2 separate regions of the Homo sapiens genome follow, and region 2 is linked to region 1. The links are contacts of gene promoters, found by promoter capture Hi-C in human tissues and cell types (Jung and others, 2019). All regions are on one chromosome and are shown on one strand. Each heading gives the region's core, a stretch centred on a gene start or on the middle of the fragment in contact. The rest is flanking DNA. Distances are from core to core; before and after follow the strand shown.

What was found. The method cuts DNA at HindIII sites, captures the fragments that hold promoters and counts their contacts. A contact is called where the count stands out against the background at its distance.
Region 2: a fragment that was not itself captured here is called in contact with the fragment with the promoter of CCL20 in region 1 in 2 of the 25 tissues and cell types used here (H1 embryonic stem cells and aorta).

Annotation. Positions count from the first base shown.
Region 1 is chr2:227,810,395-227,817,586 of GRCh38, reverse strand. CCL20 (C-C motif chemokine ligand 20) reads right to left here and starts at 3,745. Exons shown (of 4, transcript NM_004591.3): 1 at 3,600-3,745; 2 at 2,019-2,133; 3 at 1,203-1,280; 4 at 31-525. The coding sequence starts at 3,675. The coding sequence ends at 504. The HindIII fragment of the contact is 20,627 bases long and covers 1-7,192 here.
Region 2 is chr2:227,446,606-227,453,717 of GRCh38, reverse strand. No RefSeq gene overlaps it. Among named protein-coding and RNA genes, the nearest start is that of MIR5703, 22 kb to the left of the region's middle. The HindIII fragment of the contact is 3,492 bases long and covers 1,537-5,028 here.

The DNA.
Region 1 (7,192 bases), core at 2,496-4,995:
AAAAATGATATAAAACTCAATCAACAGAAGAACTTTTTGTTTCTTTATTTTCAATATTTGTCTTATTAATATTTTTCTTATTTTATAATGCAATTACAACAATTTAGGAGACAAAACAATATAAACAAAAGAATGTTAAATAGTTTTTTTTAAAAAATAGCTTGTTGCTTGCAAGAAAGTCCATATAATCTTATTCCCCCCCAAATATAATTTTATACTTTGCACTAAACCAAAATAGCTTATGGAAAATTAGTATTAAATAGCTAAACACAGAAAACCTACAGCTATAAATAACATAAAATACAGTTTAACTTTAATGTGATGCTTAAACAAAGCAAACTATGATGCAATATGAATCAACTTCATTAATTGGACAAGTCCAGTGAGGCACAAATTAGATAAGCACTAAACCCTCCATGATGTGCAAGTGAAACCTCCAACCCCAGCAAGGTTCTTTCTGTTCTTGGGCTATGTCCAATTCCATTCCAGAAAAGCCACAGTTTTTACATGTTCTTGACTTTTTTACTGTAAAATGAAAAAGAAGAAAAGTGTAAGTAATGACAAGGTGACTGCATGGTGGGAATGACTTTGGTACCTAAAGGTTGCTTCACCTGCCCTTAATCTCAACTCAGTATGTCAAGCAGCTCAGAGTTCAGATGAGGAAATTGAGGTTTAGAGAGGATGGCCCTTGCCCAACCTAACTCAGCTCATTAATGACAGAAACAGGCTATGGACACTTATCTTGTGTCTCCAAGTTCAGTATCTATGGCATGCTGGTGTTAGGTGCCTTCTGTCCATTGATAAAGTGTTACTGTCTATTATTGTCAACGTAAATCAGAACCATTGATCTCTGTTTAACTAATGTTCATTTTTCAGTTTTTAACAAACAACCAAATGCCAGATTGCCTTTAAATTATATAAATAGTAGGCATCTTTGCAACAAGAATCAGGCAGCTAGTAACTATCAAATGCATAGAGAAATCTAATACATCATGTAAGAAATCACTAAATTAAAATAATAATAACGATGATGATCTGTAAGTGGAAAAATGCATTCTTTGTTTTTGTGGTCCAACTCAAATTTTCCCTTTAAAAATTCCACAATAGTTAAACTAAAGAATCCCAGAAAACCTACGGCCCACCCCTTTGCACACTCCTCTTTCCTCAAACATTTGCAAAGGCTAAATGTCAGTGTAACATACCTGAGGAGACGCACAATATATTTCACCCAAGTCTGTTTTGGATTTGCGCACACAGACAACTTTTTCTTTGTGTGAAAGCTGAAAAATCAGAAAATTTGATTTGTGTTTAATGAGCTTTTCAATGGGTTTTTCATAGAACATACAATGGAAATTTTATATTCCAGTTGATTACACACTAAACATTTCAGTTGATGAGGTAAAATAAAATGCACAAAAAATGCTTCTGATGAAGATTAATGCAAAATCAAAGTGATTCTCTCTTTCTCTGCAATGTAACAAATAATAGTACAATGGCAGGAAGATAAAGTCCCAGAATTGTCATATAATTTTGCTATTGGTGGTTACATAGAATATGTATGTATCTGATCAATAACTTGTATAATTCCAAAATATAATATCCTATATAAATCAAGAAAATTATATGTGATAGTATAATTAGTCTGAGATTTTACTTTTGGTCTCAAACACTTTCTGGTAGAAGATGCTCATTTCGAAATGTGTATCTTCCCTATTTTCCTAATATATCACTTTAATAGCCTTAGAAAGTGATTTTTGCCCTATACTAGTTCCGTTTGACCAAAAAAAATTTTTAAAAAAGGTTTTGCCTTATTCCAGTCCTGTTTAAAGTGAACTTTAAAGTAGATATGTACTAAGACAAAGCTATCTTTGCCACATCATTTCTTTCTCTTTAAAATAAGATCTTATGTTCAAAACATCAGTAATTTCTGAATGAAACTCTAAAAAGGCAAACATTTTTAAAACTGAAGTTTCTAGGTATTCCTGATACAACTGAATTAAAATCAATTAATAACTTACATGATAGCATTGATGTCACAGCCTTCATTGGCCAGCTGCCGTGTGAAGCCCACAATAAATTTAGGATGAAGAATACGGTCTGTGTATCCAAGACAGCAGTCAAAGTTGCTTGCTGCTAAAAAAAAAAAAAAGTGAAAGGTATTGGATCCACATGAATAAACTTATCCTGTGATTGGTATTATAAAACTACCTTAAGTTGTGAAAAATCTAGTGAATCTCATGTATATGACGAATAAACCACTTAGAGGAGGAGTTTCAATGTCTTGGAAACCTTTGTAAGGTCGTTGAGAACCAATCTAACATAGTTTACAGTTCTTTGAAAAAACAGTTTGTGTGCCGAGAAGTTTTGGTTCAATAATAGAATTGAGAAACACAGGACTTCTCATAAGTGGGATATCTTCAGTAAGAAATACAAATTGACAATATTTCATTTCAGTTCACTATAATCATTCAAGAATATGAGCAGCCCCTTCCCTACTGCTTGAAGGAACCCTTATGTAGATAAACTTCCAAAAGCAGAAAATGAATAAATTGGCAGATTTTAATCTATTATCTGGCTACTAAGTATTGAGAAATAGAGCTACAAAGGGAAATATGATTTATAGGAGTGAAAACACTTTGAAATTGTCCTATTAATTAATAGGAATGTTTAATTTTGTTCATAAAAGTTCAACATGTGGTTGGGCATGGTGGCTCATGCCTGTAATCCCAGCACTTTGGGAGGCCAAGGAGGAAGGATTGCTTGCCTCCAGGAGTTCGAGACCAGCCTGGGCAACACAGTGAAACCCTGTCTCTACAAAAAAAAAAAAAATGTAAAAAAATTAGCCAGGTGAGTGGCACACGGCCGTGGTCCCTGTTATTCAAGAGGCTGAGACTGGAGGTTCACTTGACTCCAGGAGGTTGAGGCTGTAGTGAGCTGTAATCATGCCACTGCACTCTGGCCTGGGTGATGAAGTTAGACCCTGCCTCAGAAAAAAAAAAAAATTCAATGTGCATTTTTAGGAATGCACCTGTTGCTAAAAGTGTTGTGTGACTATTGAGCAATAAAGCAATACTTGGACATTCCCGAGTCAGATTACAACATGCTGTAAGGTAAGGGATTAATGTTATTTTAAAGTTGGCAAGCAATGTCCCCCATGCCTTGTGGGGATGTTGATGTCAGGTATTATAATCTACTTCTAAAGGATGAGTTTTGAACTTTACCAAAACTATTAAGTTGGGAGGTACGAAAGTTGGGGACACAGGAGGATTCTCTACATTTCAAAATGGCCCCATCTACTGGTAACATTACACACTTTATATCACTCCCAGAAACATCACTTTGGCTTTATCCTGAAGTTTAGGGATCTCTAAGAGCCCACCACTCCCCAAATCTGCTGAGATTGACAGCAGAGAGGAAAGCCTGATCCGCAGCAGTAACTCTTCTCTCCTCCACTCCACCATGGGCAGACAACTTCCATCACTACCTCTTGTATACTTCCTAACAGTTTTCCATCCCTTAGGGACCCCCAGTTGAGCTCAAGGCTAAAAGGAAAATGAAAATAGTCTTTCTTCTGTGCTAGCGGAAAGAGCGACACTTACCTTCTGATTCGCCGCAGAGGTGGAGTAGCAGCACTGACATCAAAGCAGCCAGGAGCAAACTCTTGGTACAGCACATGGTTTTTAGCTCAAAGAACAGATCTGCTCAGTGTTGAGTACCCAGTTCTTTGGGAGTGCTGTTATATTCTGACAGCAGCCTGGGATGGCCCTATTTATAGCAAATATTGGGAATGTACACAGAAGGCGTGTTGCCACATGGGGTTTTCCCCATTGATCAACTGGCCCCATCATGTCATCATAAAAAAAACCCGCAAGGAAAACTTCCTGCTTTTTCCTCATATTGGGAAGGTGCGAAGGTCAGGGTGGGGGACAGGAAGTTGAGAAGGGGAGAATCCTGTTAAATTCTTTGTATTTGCAAAGAGCAAAAGCAGCTCAGCCCTGTGACCCAGAAAAGACTTTCATCCAGTTTTAACTTAATCATTTTTGTGTCTGAAAATAGAGGATTAACAGCGATACAAAGGTCAGCCCCACACAGGAACATTCCAGAACTCCTATTGTTACACCCTATTTGCTTTCCAGAACCAGTCAAGGAGGAGGGGGAGGAGGAGCAGGTGGGATGCCAGGCATACTCTGCTACACATTTACCATCACATGGTTGAGGTTCAGCTGTCATGAAGAAGACCCTGAGTTGCTAGACTAACATTCAGAGCAGGTACTATAACAGTGCTACAGTACTGTCCGCAGTTAGAGTGGAAAATATCAGCCTTTAAGTAAGGCTCAAACCTCAGCTTCACCTTGATTTAATGTCAACTCTTCTAAGAATCTTATACATTCACATGGCTTTAATCAATATTGCAGTTCAGAAAATAATCCTTACCTACCTTTAACTCTCCATGATGATGTACTAATATAACTCAATATAGAGCCTCAGAATTGTTGAGGAAAGAAAACCTATCAGCAGTAGCTAGTCAGCACAGCAAATGTCAAATAACAGTACTAATGATGATAATGTAATATGAATCCCTAACCTAAGGCAGTATAAGAACTCTCCACTAGACCCAAATAGGTTGAAAGTAAAAGGATCAAAAGAAAGGTATACCAAACAGTAAACAAAAGAGAACTGGAGTTGGTGATGCCTATATCAGACAAAATAGATTTTTTTTTAATGTTACCGGAAATAAAAAGGGACTTTCATGGTAACACAAAATTAACCCATTGGGAAGATGTAAAACCTATAACCATATATATACCTAACAGTAGCACCCCAAACTACAGAAAGCAAAAACTGACAGAATTGAAGGGAAGAATAGGAAATTTTATTTTATTTTATTATTATAATTTCTTTTGAGACAGAATTTTGCTCTTGTTGCCCAGGCTGGAGTGCAGTGGCACCATCTCGGCTCACTACAACCTCCGCCTCCTGGGTTCAAGCGATTCGCCTGCCTCAGCCTCCTGAGTAGCTGGGACTACAGGCACGTGCCACCACGCCCAGCGAATTTTTGTATTTTTAGTAGAGACGTGGTTTCACCATGTTGCCCAGGCTGAACTCCTGACCTCATTACAGGCATGAGCCACCGTGCCCAGCAGAATAGGAAATTTAACAATAAAAGTTGACAGCTTTGGTACCACATTTTCACTAATTAATAAAATTTAGGCAGAAGATCCACAAGAAAATAGAAGACTTGAACAACACTATAAGCCAAATAGACTTAGCAGGCATCGAAGGACTACTCTATCCAACATCAACAGAATAGTTGCACATGGAATGTTCTCTAGGATAAAGCATATGGTAGGTTATGGAACAAGTCTCAGTAAATGTAAACCGACTGAAATCACATAAAGTATACATTCAAACCACAATGGAATTAAATCAGAAATCAGTAACAGACAGAAAGGAAACCACATATTCCTAAATAACCAATGTGTCTGGCCAGGAGTGGTGGCTCATGCCTGTAATCCTAGCATTTTGGGAGGCCGAGGTGGGTGGACTGCCTGAGGTCAGGAGTTCGAGACCAGACTGGCCAACATAGTGAAACCCTGTCTCTACTAAAAATACAAATATTAGCCGGGTGTGGTAGTCCATGCCTGTAATCCCAGCTACTTGGGAGGCTGAGGCAGGAGAATCGCATGAGCCCAGGAAGCAGAAGTTACGGCGAGCCGAGATCACGCTACTGCCCTCTAACCTGGCCAACAGAGACTCCATCTCAAAGGAAAAAACAACAACAACAACAACAATGTGTCAAAAGAAAAGTCACTAGAGAAAGTAGAAAACAACTTTGAAATGTAAAAAAAAGTCCACAACATATCAAAACTTATAGGATGTAGCAAAAGCAGTCCTCAGAAGGAAACTTATAGCTGTAAACACTCACATTAAAAAAAAAAAAAAAGAAACATCTCAAAACAATAACCCAAACTTCTACCTTAAGAAACTAGAGAAAAGCAGAGCAAGCTAAACCCAAAGCATGCAGAAGGAGGGAAATGAAGATTAGAGCAGGAATAAATAAAACAGAGAATGCAAAACAATAGAGGAAATCAACGAATGCGAAAGTTAGTTCTTTGAGAAGATCAACAAAACTAACAAGCCTTGACTAGACCAAACCAAACAAAGGAAAGGGAGGTAAAAAAAAAAAAAAAAAAAAAAAAACTGTATGCAAATAAAATTACTATGCCGACAGCACAGTAAAAAGATCATACACCATAACCAAGTGGGATTTATTCCAGGAAATGTAATACAACAAATCAATCAAATAAAAAATAAAAATGATTTGAAAAGCAACTGACAAAATCCAACACGTTGTCATGACAAAAACACTCAACTAACTAGGAATAGTTGAGAACTTTCTCAACCTGATAAAAGTCATCTATGACCACCTCACAGCTGATACGAATAGAGATGAAAGACACAAATTATTGACCCTGATTCAAGAAGAAAATAGAAAATTTGGGATGGGCGTGGTGGCTCATGCCTGTAATCCCAGCACTTTGGGAGGCCAAGGCGGAAGGAGCACAAGGTCAGGAGATCGAGACCATCCTGGCTAACATGGTGAAACCCTGTCTCTACTAAAAATGCAAAAAATTAGCCTGGTGTGGTAGCGGGCACCTGTGATCCCAGCTACTAGGGAGGCTGAGGCAGGAGAATGGCGTGAACCCGGGAGGTAGAGGTTGCAGTGAACCAAGATCGTGTCATTGTACTCCAGCCTGGGCGACACAGCAAGACTCCATCTCAAAAAAAAAATAGAAAATTTGAATAGAGCTATAACAAGTAAAGATATCAAATTGATAACCAAATATTTTTCACAAATAAAACCTCAGGACCAGATTAATTCACTGGTTAATTCTACAAAACATTCAAATAAGAATTAATACCAGTTCTTCACAAACTTTTTCAAAGTATAGAAGAGAAGGGAACCCTCTTCAACTTCTTCTATGAGGACAGTATTATCCTGACACCAAAATAAGATAAACACATCACAAGAAAAGAAAACAACAGACCAATGTCCTTTCCGAATACAAACACAAAAACAAAACAACATAGTAAAAGGACCATACACCATAACAAGTGGGATTTATTCCAGGAAATGTAATACTACAAATTAATTGAATAAAAATAAAAACTATATGAAAAGTAACTAACA
Region 2 (7,112 bases), core at 2,033-4,532, 360 kb after region 1:
TTCTTATTCTTTGAAAAGGTACCATTTACTGAGCAACTAGACGTGACAGGTACTATGCCAATGCTTCATGTGTATTACCTCCTTTGTTCTCGAAAAATAGTTATTACTACTTCCATTTTACAGATGAGGAAACCAATACTCACAGAAGAAAAGCCACTTTTTTAGATTCACAAAGCAAACATAATTAAACTTATTTTTAAACGTAACTTAAAAGGCCATGTGCAGTGGCTCACACCTGTAATTCCAGCACTTTGGGAAGCCAAGGCGGGCAGATCACTTGAGGTCAGGAGTTCAAGACCAACCTGGCCAACATGGTGAAACCCCGTCTCTACTAAAAATACAAAAATTAGCCAGGCATGGGGGCACGTGCCTGTAATCCCAGCTGCTCGGGAGGCTGAGGCAGGAGAATCACTTGAACCCCAGGAGCAGAGGTTGCAGTGAGCCGAGATTGCACCACTGCACTCCAGCCTGGGTGACACAGTAAGTCTCTGCCTGGAAAAAAAAAAAAAGAAGGAAGGAAGGAAACTTAAAGGTTAAGGCCTGGTGTGGCTCATGCCTGTAATCCCAGCACTTTGGGAGGCTGAGGTGGGCGGACCACTTGAGGTCAAGAGTTTGAGACCAGCCTGGCCAACATGGTAAAACCCTGTCTCTACTAAAAATGGAAAAATTAGCCGGGCATAGTGGCAGGTGCCTGTAATCCCAGCTACTCGGGAGACTGAGGCAGGAGAATTGCTTGAGCCAGGGAGGCAGAGGTTGCAGTGAGCCAAGATCGCGTGATCTTGGCTAGGTGACAGAGCCTAGGTGACAGAGCAAGACTCCATCTCAAAAAAAAAAAAAAAAAAAAAAGGTTAAATACTCTGCAAAGGCAAGGTCAGCATCTCTTAAATTTCTGTCCTCTGCATCTCATATGGAGAAGATGTTCGTAAACACCAAGTGCTGATTTCAATGAATGTGGCAGAGTCTGGTGATATAGGAAGAAGGGTTGGTATTTGTATAGTATTGTATACAGTGCATTTTCTCATGCATTATCTCATTAAAATCTCACAAAAATTCTGGGAAATATGTATTGTTATTGTCTCAATTTTTCAGATAGGAGACTGAGAGGCGAAGACTTGGCTTTCCCCAAACCAAACTGCCAGTAGTGGCATAGCCCAAACTCAAATGCCATCTTTTTCCAGGTGCTGTCCAGTAGACCACCATGGCCTTCCCCCACCGATACCAGCTGAGACTCAAATTCTGGTATATAGTCCTGGTGACAAAATAAACTTCATATAAGATTCAAATCCTGCAAAAGGACAATAACCACAAATTAGCAGAAAATATGACATTGTTTTGCCAGAGTTTCAGATCTTCAAAAAAAGGAAGACAGAGAGACCCTAAGCCAGGCTAAGTTAAAGAAATCTAATTCCCATTCTGTGGGAGAAAATATTCAGTTCAAATAGTTCTTTTAATCAAAATGCTTATTTATATAAAATAACAAGCCAATAGGGGTTTCTTTAAAAAAAAAAGAAAAAAAAAAAAAACCTCTGAATGTTGGCCAGGCATGGTGGCTCATGCCTGTAATCCCAGCACTTTGGGTGGCCAAGGCAGGTGGGTCACCTGAGGTCAGGAGTTCAAGACCAGCCTGGCCAACATGGTGAAACCTCATTTCTACTAAAAATAGAAAAAATTATCTGGGCATGGTGGCAGGCGCCTGTAATCCCAGCTACTCAGGAGGCTGAGGCAGGACAATCACTTGAACCCAGGAGGCAGAGGTTGCAGTGAGCCAAGATTACACCATTGCACTCAAGCCTGGGTGACAGAGTGAGACTCCAAAGAAAAAAAAAAAAGAAAAAAAAAAAGAACTCCAAGTGTTGTCCATCCTCATTTGTAAGAATTTACTTCTGGAGCATTATCCTTTTCAGAAAGGTCAGGTGTAATGTCATTTTAACATCTCTCTGGCAGTGATCCCTACAAAGGGGTTGGATTTACATAATGTAATCATTTTTATATTTCTGAATGTGCAAGTGGAGGTTGGTGTGTTATACAGCAGAGAAGGGAGATAAAAAGAATGCTGTGTATTTAGTAACATGCCCCATTTCAATAAGCCAGTGTTTCTTAGGGAGTTTGTTCACTGCGGATATGTAGAAAGATATGGAAGCAGAAACGCTGACACATGTTTGCAAAGAGAATGATTGCAACATTAGTCCAGGGAGTTGATCTATAACAGGCCTTTGCCTTTCTTCACCTAGGACTGCTGATGGGGTTGGAAAGGAGCTGAACGACATTATCTCACCCTCCAGATGGACTCACTCTGGGTAGAACAAATATCAGACACCAACATGATATCTAATGGGTCATTCATTTAAATTGTTATCTGCTAAACAGTGTACAAAGTCCCGAGCCATGTGGTGTGGGGAATGGAACAAGGAACCAGGTGCAAGTCCTTTCCACAAAGGACTTTTATATAATAAAATGGAATAAAAAAGGAAACACAAAAGATCTTAAAACAAGACAGAAAGTGAAGTGTCACAAGAGGGGTGAGATAATTCACTAAGGCAGTTCACAGGAAGGCATGAGTCCCTCAGTCTTGAAGGATAAGGGAAGGGAGACTTCTTGGAGGAAGTAGCAGTTAAGATGGGCAGGATTTGGAGTGCACATGGCGCTGGGAGGAAAGAACATCTCAGGCAGAGGAAGCAACCTGGGCTAGGGCTGGTAGTGGAAAATGCAGTAGCCAGAAAATAGAGAGTTCAGTTTATAGTATAGCATGCTTGAAGGTCAGATTATTACTGGTTTTTAACTTTTAACACTAATTTCTGTTAATGGGGTTTAGAAAGCACTCAGAAGGGTGTCTTTCAGTTAAGTGAAATCCTTACAAATTAGCCACTCATTGGTCTGACCCCCTCTTAACTCGCCTAGTAGAAGATGTTTTCTGATCTGTAAAGTCACATGGGCAGTGCAGCCAGGGAGCCAAAGTCACCCACTAGGAGCCATCCATGGAATAATGTTTAGCTTTTACGACTGAAAACCTGTCCTTGGTTGGTACAATCTGAATTTTTTTCCAAGCTATGGAGAAGCTAGTAAAATCTACACTCTCTTCTTTATAGCACTTGCTAAGTCAACTGTTTGATTTCAAATATTTAATTAAACATTAACAGTATGCAATACTTGTACTGCCTGTCCACACCTTATGCTTTATTTCACAATCCAGATGCATTGAATCAACTTTTCTTCTATGTGTGAATGCTGTCAGAAAAAAAAGGAAGGAAAGAAGAAAGGAAACGGGGGGGGGGGGGAGGGATAAAAAAATAGTATACTTTTTGTACCCATTTCAATTTCTGCATTTCATAATTCAGTTGAATCTAGGAAGCATAGTGCGGTATTTTTCCCAAACAGGAAATAAGTAACGTGTTTTACTGCCAAGTTGACCGTATAGATTCAGCTGTGATTTTTAAGCCACCTGGTAGCATATTTCGAGATTTCTCCTTTTGTCACTATATCTTAACTCCATCCATGCATGGATGTATACTGGACTTGAATACAATAAAAAGAATGATTTTTACTTCTCCTTGAATCATGGAGTTTTCTGCTTTATGAAAAATGTATATCACAATGTTATGTCTGGTCCATGCTACTAAAAAAGAATCTTTCTTCAGGACGATTTGACCCTGTTCCCATTGTTTTCTCAGCATGTTTTCAGCATCAGCGCATTGATTATGCTGTCATTGTCCAGAATACTGAGACAGAAAAGAAGATCTATTAGATCATCAAAGACCTGGAGCAGGCCCAGGTCTCCAGAGAGAGCCTGTGACATGCTGTCTTAGGCAAATGACGGAGGAAAATTTAGAGCCACGTAAAATTTTAGGCAGGCTCTGTCCCAGTTTTTAATTTTTGAAAGTTTCTGAAATAAATCTCAGAGAGACACAGTTCATAAAACAGTTTCACTGCTGAATTTAGGTTAGTAGTTCTCAACTGGGGGCAATTTTGACCCCCTGGGGATATTTAGCAATATCTGGAGACTTTTTTTGATTGTCACATATCAAGGAAAGGGGTTGCTACTGGTTGGGTAGAGGCCAGGAAGGCTGCCAAACCTCCTACAGTTCCCAGTACAACCCCACGACAAAGAGTTATCCAGCCTGAAATGTCAATGGTGCCAACGTTAAAAAACCCCAATTTAGGTCTTTTCCTAAGCTTTTTTTTTTTCCTGCTGCTTATCTATTCACTGCCCCAAACAAAGCAGATTACTTGACTGATTAAATGACTCTGAGGAGCACACACTATTTTGAAATAAACCGTTTCAAACACAATTTTTACTAATTCTATTTCTTTCTTTCTTTCTTTCTTTCTTTCTTTTTTTTTTTTTTTTGAGATGGAGTCTCGCTCTGTTGCTCAAACTAGAGTGCAGTGGCACGATCTCGGGTCACTGCAACCTCTGCCTCCCAGGTTGAAGCAATTCTTCTGCCTCAGCCTCCTAAGTAGCTGGGGCTACAGGCGTGCACCACCACACCCGGCTAATTTTTGTATTTTTAGTAGAGATGGGTTTTCACCATGTTGGCCAGGCTGGTCTCAAACTCCTGACCTCAGGTGATCCACCCACCTCGGCCCCCCGAAGTGCTGGGATTACAGGCGCGAGCCACCGTGCCCAGCCTATTAATTATATTTTTTAGTCCCAAGATAAGCAAGCATTAACAATCACACAGAGAAACAAAATTATATTTTCTAGTTATTCTAAAATTAGGATTGTGTTGAGTTTAGTAAGACTCCAGATTAACCAAATAACTTTCGAGAAACCCAAGGAAAAAAGCCATTAAATGTAGAAGGGAAAAAAACTGCTTGCCTCAATCATTAGGGCCCTGTTGTTAATCAGAAGCTTGTATTCTTGTTTCTACATATTCAAGTTTGTATAGGCAGAGCAGAGTCAAGCAAAGTCAAAGAGTTAAAAGTGAAAAACTTTTCATAGCAAACAAATATCTCAAGAATATTCAAGAGGTACCCCCACCCCAAATTATACTCTCCATTTTTTAAAGGGGAGAATTCAATTTCTTAGGAAAAAAGAATATACGGTGAATGGAGTGATACAATAAGAGAAGGTTAAAGAAAAAGGCAAGGAGAGGGAGAAAAGAAAGGGAAGGGAAGAGGGGAAAGGAAGGGAAGAGGAAAGGAAAGGCTAGGGCATATTTTTTTTTTTTTTTTTCCTGCAGGTTTGGAAGGACTTTGGCTAACAGAAGCTTCCTGAGTGGTTGTTCCATCCCCAACTTTTTGTGGAATCTGGCACTGGCCTTGGTGTCATCTATAATATAGATTTCAATGCTAAATGTCAGGAGGAAAATGGATAGGGCAGTGTGCTTTATGAACTGTTACCAAAATACTAGCATCGAAAAAGCAAGCAGCAATTACAAACAATAGGCTTAAGGTTATCACGTCATCATATTTTTGCTTGCTTCAAGTTTGTAGTTTTGTGAATCTAACCTAAATTAATATTTTCAAAGACCACAAGGTTGTTACCCATTAATTCCAGGTTAGAGCAGACATTTTGAAAGTATGGGAAGCAAGCTGGATCCGCTGAGAATCCTTGTTAAATACGGTTTTTTAATAATGTGTTGATATCATTATAGGAATAATGCTTGTATACTTGAAACATTGAATACATTTACTCTTCAGCCTATTGGAGAGTTATCCCTTCCTTGAAGTCTGGCCTTGATTATGACATTCTTTTGTTTCTGCTCCCTCCCCACCCCCGACAGAATCAAGATTGGACTTTACTGCACTGTTGAGCTAATCTGAATTAAAATCTGTCACTTGTGTTCAGTCACGACTCCGTTACATTTCCTAATGAGCCGTGCCTGATCTTTGGGCATTTCTCAGGGTATTTATGAGAAGGGTGCAGCTAAGGCTTAGTGGAGACTCCGTGGTGATATTTAGTATGTGAAGCATCTGTACAAAGCATACAGTTGAGAATGTTCATCGTTTATTGTTGTTAAACTTAGTCACTCACATTCCTTCCCTACTGAATGAGGCTTCCAAGGACACCTCAAACACAAATTCATCACAGGGAAGACAGTTGCACTGAACATTAGCAGAACTAAGAATCGATGCATCAGGTCCTAACTGGAGATATATTTAATACACTTTTTCCTTAGTTTTGTTTTACTTGTAAAGATTACAATAGTCGGCCGGCCACAGTGGTGCACACCTGTAATCCCAGCAGTTTGGGAGGCTGAGGCGGGCAGATCGCCTGAGGTCAGCAGTTCGAGACCAGCCTGACTAACATGGTGAAACCCCATCTCTACTAAATATAAGAAATTAGCGGGGCGTGGTGGTACATGCCTGTAATCCCAGCTACTTGGGAGGCTGAGGCAAGAGAATTGTTTGAACCCGGGAGGTGGAGGTTGCAGTGAGCCGAGATCCCAAGATCGCAGCATTGCACTCCAGCCTGGGCAACAAGAGCGAAACCTCGTCTAAAAAAAAAAAAAAAATGACAGTAGTTATATGAGCTCATGATGTATGAAAAAAAAAATGCCTACCACACAGAATGGTGGTAAATGTAAGACTTCCTTTCCCTACCTGTTCAACCCAAAGTCCCATTGCTCAGAAGTAAGCACTATTAATAGTTCCTCATGTGTTCTCCTAGGATTTTTCAGAAAGGAGAATAGAGGAAAATTATTTTTTTCTGTGCTCCAATTTCTTTTTTTTCCTTCTCTCTCCCCAGAGCGCACAGTACTATCTATCATCACTAAATCTTTACCAGGCCAGACCCATAAATATCTCAAAAACGATTCCAAATAAGTTAGAGAGATGATTAGAGAAAGAGATTGTGATTACCAGTAGTGGCAGATTTTAAATAACGTTTTTTCCAGACTTCAGTGGTTTCTTTTTATGTTTATGTGCTTTTAATTCAAGTTCTTGAGTTCATTTTGAATTTTGAAGCTTTTTTTTAATTTAAAAAAATAGCCTTCATTTACTGAAATTAACTGGGGGCTTAAACTAACATTGATCCTGTAAATCCATGGAAGCTGTAGGACTAGCGTATTCATTAGTGGACCACAGACCTGAATGTGGTGGTCCTGTATCTTTGAATACCTTGTTGCTTCAAGATACTGTACCCTCACTATTCCCTCTAAATCCCAAATGGA